2 separate regions of the Homo sapiens genome follow, and region 1 is linked to region 2. The links are contacts of gene promoters, found by promoter capture Hi-C in blood cells and fetal thymus (Javierre and others, 2016). All regions are on one chromosome and are shown on one strand. The core of a region is centred on a gene start or on the middle of the fragment in contact, and the rest is flanking DNA. Distances in the headings are between cores, read along the strand shown. Region 1 overlaps TMTC1 (transmembrane O-mannosyltransferase targeting cadherins 1). Region 2 holds the start of TSPAN11 (tetraspanin 11).

Evidence for each region. Contacts are between HindIII fragments. The CHiCAGO score rates a contact against its expected background, and 5 or more counts as called.
Region 1: a fragment that was not itself captured here is called in contact with the fragment with the promoter of TSPAN11 in region 2 in 4 of 17 cell types (naive CD8 T cells, naive B cells, activated CD4 T cells and 1 more); the score reaches 8.8 in naive CD8 T cells.

What each region holds. Positions count from the first base shown.
Region 1 is chr12:29,580,853-29,583,947 of GRCh38, reverse strand. It overlaps TMTC1 (transmembrane O-mannosyltransferase targeting cadherins 1), which reads left to right. Exons shown (of 18, transcript NM_001193451.2): 8 at 374-541. Among named protein-coding and RNA genes, the nearest start is that of OVCH1, 85 kb to the right of the region's middle. The HindIII fragment of the contact is 315 bases long and covers 1,163-1,477 here.
Region 2 is chr12:30,925,132-30,928,017 of GRCh38, reverse strand. It overlaps TSPAN11 (tetraspanin 11), which reads right to left and starts at 1,270. Exons shown (of 8, transcript NM_001370302.1): 1 at 1,222-1,270. It overlaps LOC124902911 (a long non-coding RNA gene), which reads left to right and starts at 1,329. Exons shown (of 2, transcript XR_007063264.1): 1 at 1,329-2,886. The HindIII fragment of the contact is 3,619 bases long and covers 1-2,886 here.

The DNA.
Region 1 (3,095 bases), core at 71-2,570, 1.3 Mb after region 2:
CAATAGAGTCATACAATGACAGTGACATGAGGGAGCTTGGGTCAGAGGAGCCATTCAGGACCCAAGAGCTTATATGTGGGACTTCTCATGATGCCTCAGCTGCTGAAATCCAGGGCACTTTAAGCCTACAAGATGACTCTCTCATTCCCTACACTGAAGAAATAGCAAGAAATATTTCTACAAGAAATAGCAAACCTGCTAGTGCAGCACTTTAGAGAACTAACATGTTAATATTGTCCAAGGCAGGGGAGTTTCTATTTGTTTCTCTAGCACAGGACAAGCTTCATTTGAAAGTTAGTTTTGTAGGAGATAATTCTGGGGGGAAGCTATTGCACCCCCAAAGTAATCCCGTTCCTTCCACCCTGTTTTCCAGCATGGGCTACTGCATCCTTTTTGTGCATGGACTGAGCAAGCTCTGCACTTGGCTGAATCGATGTGGGGCCACCACCCTGATTGTGTCCACTGTGTTGCTGCTGTTGCTTTTCTCTTGGAAAACTGTGAAACAGAATGAAATTTGGCTGTCAAGAGAGTCCCTATTCAGGTATGACTAGACAGATAAAAATAAATATCTTCCTGTTTATTTCTTTGCTTACAAATTGTTTCCAAACAAATGAGGTAACATGGGCCTGGCAGTATTTACTAAGGAAAATTATCTTTAATAAAGTTTTAAATGGAAGATGTAATTTTATGTGGGGTTTTAACTTTAGATTTTTAAAATGATATATAAAACTTAACATGAGCTCTTTCTAAGTGAATTTATGAAAATAAGGCTCCTGGGAAAGTTTTTGAGTCTGTGAATTCAGATGGAAACAGTTTTAATGATGAGCAGGGCTGTAAAATCAGCTATAAACAAAATGAAACCAAGAAGTGCATGTGAAAAGTGAGCACACAGCCAGAGGGAAGAGAAATGCAGTATCCTTCTTTAGAATATTCCAGCATGATACGCTGTGATCTGTGACCTAGTTGCTTTATTTTGAACATTAATTTTGAACATTCTTTGAGACTGCCATTCATGATGCTGTGTTTCTGGGGCTTAGTCAGCCTCACTAAATGCCGCAGCCCTGGCGACCTTCGCCTGGCTCTCTTGGCACTGCCACACCTGACACCCAAACAATATTTGCCCAGTCTTCCAGGAATCCCCAGTCTGGGCCTCTTCCAAGCTTCTGTCCTCACTTATGACCTGATTGGTCAATTTAGTCACCATGATTTTTTTCTTGGTTTCCTGATTAGCTGGTACCCAACACTTATTCTTTGGGGGCAAACAATTGAAGCAGAGCTAATATCACTTAAGGAAAGGGGAAACTGTTGGAAGAGGCTAGGAAGGCATACAGAATTAAGGGAAGTGAAGAACCCGGCACACCCAAGACAGGAAACAGGCATCTGGAAAATCCGTCTTGAGCACCCTCTCAGAAACAAACAGGTAAACTTAACACCAGGTTTTTGGATGTACACATCAAAGTCTTAGGAAAAGAAAGCTTTTTGGCTGAACTTAAGATTAGTCACATGCCTGCCCCTTGTCCCTAGCAAGGCACTGAGAGGACTGATCTGACCAAGAAGCCTCCTCTGAGTTCCATGGAGGGAGCTAGGGCAGGCAGAGCCCCTTGGGGTTCCACCCAGACTTCTCAAAGTGAGGCAAGAGGGAAGTTCCCAGCAGGAAATCCAAGCACTGTAAGAAGGGGGAATAATCTCTGGGCTGCCAAATATGAATGAATGAGTGAAAGAACAAATAAGACAAAGGTTCACTGCACTCTTCTACTATTTTAAAATAATGTGTTTGATTTTACTTGGCAATTTGACATTTTTTAAAATATAAAACAAAAAGTCAGTCTGGCATGCATGTCCTATTACTTTATTTATGTATTATTACGTATTACATATCATTGTCATGATCGTCATTATGATCATTTCAGCGGGTACTGTAGGGAGCTCAATGTAGAGTTTTTTGTGTGGATTGTTTTTAATGCATCTTTTTTTTTCCACACAGATCTGCAAAATCACTCTTAGATTCTGTTAAGTCCCTGTCATACCCCTTTCTATTAAACACGATTCTCACAGACCACAACAGACTCATTCCTTCCTTCTGCCTCATGCTAACTAAGGTCATTCGGTAAACACAGGAGTATTTAAGTTCAGTAATATAACTTCCTCCGAGTCTCTGTTGGCATAGTTTTTTCTTCCTTTCTCTTTCACTAGTCAGAGCTTTTACGAGCATCTTTAGAAACAGTTCTGCCCTGTGCTAAACCTTTTGCCTGAATAAAGGTACTAACAGTGGTTGTATTTTCTAATGATGTTGACTGCTTAATCAGAGCAACTTTGGGAATGGATTTTGGCAGACTTAGTACTCAAACCCTTTACAGCTGATGCCAAAGATGTAAAAAAAAAAGAAAAAAAAATAGCTGATTGGCCTTGCATCCAGAAGCTTCTATTGTTTTAGATGGAAGTATGTAGTATCTTCACATCAATTGATTTCTAAAACACAACCATTCCACATTCGTGCTTAAAGAGATTTTGCAACTAAAGAGGCCTTTGGTGGTCCAATCAAATTTTGTGTAATGTGTAAATCAAAGCTATTGATATTTTCTAGAAATCTTTGCCTATTATCATTTATCTATGTCCTGAGAAAACTTTTAAGAATCTGAGACTTTAAAAGACTATTAAGACTGTTCTTTTTCCTTCAAGGCCAGAACAGATGTTTTTATGAATTCATTTGTGCTAAGTAATGTTCAGGTCAGTCAAACAAACATTTACTGAGAATCTATGAGGCACATTAAGGTTAGTGGTTGGGTGCAGGGTATGGAGTTAGACTTTCTGGCTCTACTCCAAGTTCTGCCATTGAATAGCTGTGTGATCTTAGGCAAGTTACTTATCCACTCTGTGCTTTAATTTCTTCATTTTACAATGTAAAATACTCGTGTTTATCTCCTGAGTATAGTGTAAGAATAAAATAGTATGTGAGAGATGCACAGGACAGTTTCTGGCATTTGAGAAACGCTGTGTAAGGTTTTCAGACTATTACTGTGCAGTGTGTTCTAGGATGAGAGAGAGAGAATGTGCATAGAGGAGCTGGGAATCTGCATGGGAAGCAGACACATGAA
Region 2 (2,886 bases), core at 21-2,520:
ACCTAAGCCCTCGCCAGACCACCAACTTGGCCCCTGTAGGCCAGTAGTGCCCCTTACCCTAGGAGTCTTAACTATCATCAAAGCATTTCCAGGCATTAATTGGAGCCTCCAGTCCCTTGGGAGACAGATGGGGCCAGTGGTTATTAGTCCCATTTTGCACAAAAAGCAACTGAGCCCCAGATGACCTATCTGTCCAGGGAACAATGCTACTGACACAGTGACAACCATTAAGTTCTGATTCAAACCTGTCTCCAGCCTCTAACTGCTGCTTTCCACTGCAATCCAGCTGCCCACAAATTGAACACAGACTATCCACTTTGGCCTAATACCACCCTCATTCTCTTCTTCACGCTCCCCCACACACACCCTATGCCCCAGAGTGCACTTATGAGTTTTTCCAGAAGCTGCCTCTTCTCCTCACCCCCCACCCCCACGCTCACCTCACAATACTTGCCACGAACTGGAGACCTCTGGAACACTTATTCCTCCTGCACACAGCAGCTTAGACTCAAGTTAAGATGCTGTCCCGCCAAGCCCAACTGGGCTGCCTCCCTTTCATACTTTCCACCAATTCACACATGTGCACACTGCACATATGGCTGGTGAAAAGGATACACCCCAGAACCTTCCATGCCTTCTTTCCACACGGAGCCGGCCAACTGCACATGCAGGGATGGGCACGAAAACACAGGTGACAGGGCCTACACAGCCATGTTGTCACAAATACACAGACGTGCCCAGAACATGAGGACATCCCTGCACAGGCAGACAGGCCCTCTGAAAGCAATGTGCACCAGATACAGCATTTTGGTGTAGCCATGAGAGGCAGCTACTCGAATTCAGGGTGGACAAAGAATGACATTTTCAAGAGGAACAGACATGCCCCGGGCACGCTGGACGGCACGAGGCCCTCAGAGGCCCAGAGCTCTCTCCCAAGGCACAAGTGCAGAAAGGCAGACTCATGCGCATAGTTATGGACACCGTGTTGCGTGTCCCATGCAGACACCAATACCTGCTCACATGCCCCGCGAGTGTCCCAGGCATTCCTGCCTCCTCCACTCCTCATCCCCAGCCGGCTTCCCTCTGCCCGCCCGGGGGAAGCTCGGGACAGTCTAGCTCGGGACTGCCGGCGGGGCGGGCAGCGGAGGTGGAGGCGCCTCTCCTGGACCCCCAGCCCCCTCCCGCGGCGCCCCCACTCCTCGGGCGCGCTTCTGCACTTACCCTGCCAGGGGCTCCGGAAGCGGCGAAGGGAGCTGCGCCTAGAGAGACTGAGAGCGGCGGCTCCCGGGGCCGCCCAGCCGCCCACCGCCCGCAGCCAGCGCTCCTCCCTCCCAGCCCGGGAAGGTCAGCGTGTGGGCAGCCCGGCCCGCGCCCCTGCGCCCACTGAGGCTTCCTGCCGGCCCTCTAGTCCCCGCCTGCCCAGCGCTCGGCCGCGACGCCCCGGCGCCGGCTCTCCCAGCCCAGCCGGCAGGACGCGCCCGGGAGCCCCGCACGCGAGCTGCCGGCTCTTTGTTTGGGGGTTTGCCTCTCTGCGATTCAGAGCACGCGGAGGGAATTAAGTCAGAGTCCGAGGCAGCTGTGCGGTTGCCGGGGGGATCCCTAAGGGGGGCGGGGCAAAAGGACGGACTAGTAGGGCGGTGGAGCGGCTTTCAAACTCCCCGCGCTCCGCAGCTCCCCGCTTAGGTCTCCCTGCCCTTTACGTTTGTCGGCCCCTGGGAGAGGTTGGCCTTTGGGGGTTTCCAGGGACCCTAGGGACAAGCCTGTCTGATAAGAGAGAGGTTCTCCATCCCCCTTCCTCACCAGCCCCCATCACTGCCGTGTCCCTCTTAGAGTCCTGTGGAGCATCAGCTTTACATTTCCTGGGCCCCGGGGAGAATCAAGGTCTCTCTAATCTGAAGCAAAAAGGAATAACAGAGAGTAGAGCCCATCTGTTCCTGCTGAGTCCCTGTGAAGGTGCAAAGCTGGCCCTAACGGGACTGGCCCTAACAGTGGGGCATGGATTATCTATTTCCCAAAGTAACAAGGGCCTTGTGCTTATCCAACCGTGTTCTTTTGAAACTTAGCTGCAGTGAGGAAGATTACCCATTTACCAGGTTGCTAGATCAGGGAAGCCACTGGAGGCAGGGGACGCTGACAAAGCCACTGTACCGGGAGCACCAACGTTCTAAATACCCCAGCTGGCTGCTGAGAAGGGCTTCGCGGGGGGCCACACAGGAAGGAGATGATTCCAATAGTCCCGTGAGATGAGGACCTTAACTGGGGGATGAATGCGGAAGCTGCAGCAAAGGAGAGTCTACAGACTGTGTGGTGTAGGAGGAGCACACTGGGGCTGTAACATTGTGGAAGTCTGGAGGAGAACCTGGAGTGATGTGACTGAGTTTAGTGTGGAGCAAGTTGGATTGGAGAAGCAGGCCACCTTCTTCCAGGGGCAGATATCCAGCAAATGCAATTGGAAGGGTGATTCTGGAGTTCATAGGAGAGACTGAGGCAAGGGATGTCAATTTTGGAATCATCTGGAAAGAAGTTGGGCCGACACAAGAGGTGGAGGGAGAGGGTAGAAAAGGTACAGAGAACAGGGCTGAAGACAGAATCTAGGTCTACCGAGAAGGAGCCCATGAAAGGAACGGAAACTATCAGGAGAAACCATAAGGGAAGGTCAGGACTGTGCGGGGTGTCAGGACTCAGGAGAAGAGGGAGGTTCAATGGGGGCCGGGGCCCGGGCTGCAGGGACACCACGGAGGAGGGCGCCCAAGAAAATAGGTTTAGATTTAGAAAGAAGGAGATCTCTGGGCTAGTTCAAGATAACTATTTGAGTGGTGGCTTATATAAACCAGGTTGCCACTCCTTGGGGCGGGGCATCTGTATCTCGGATCCAATTGGTTGATG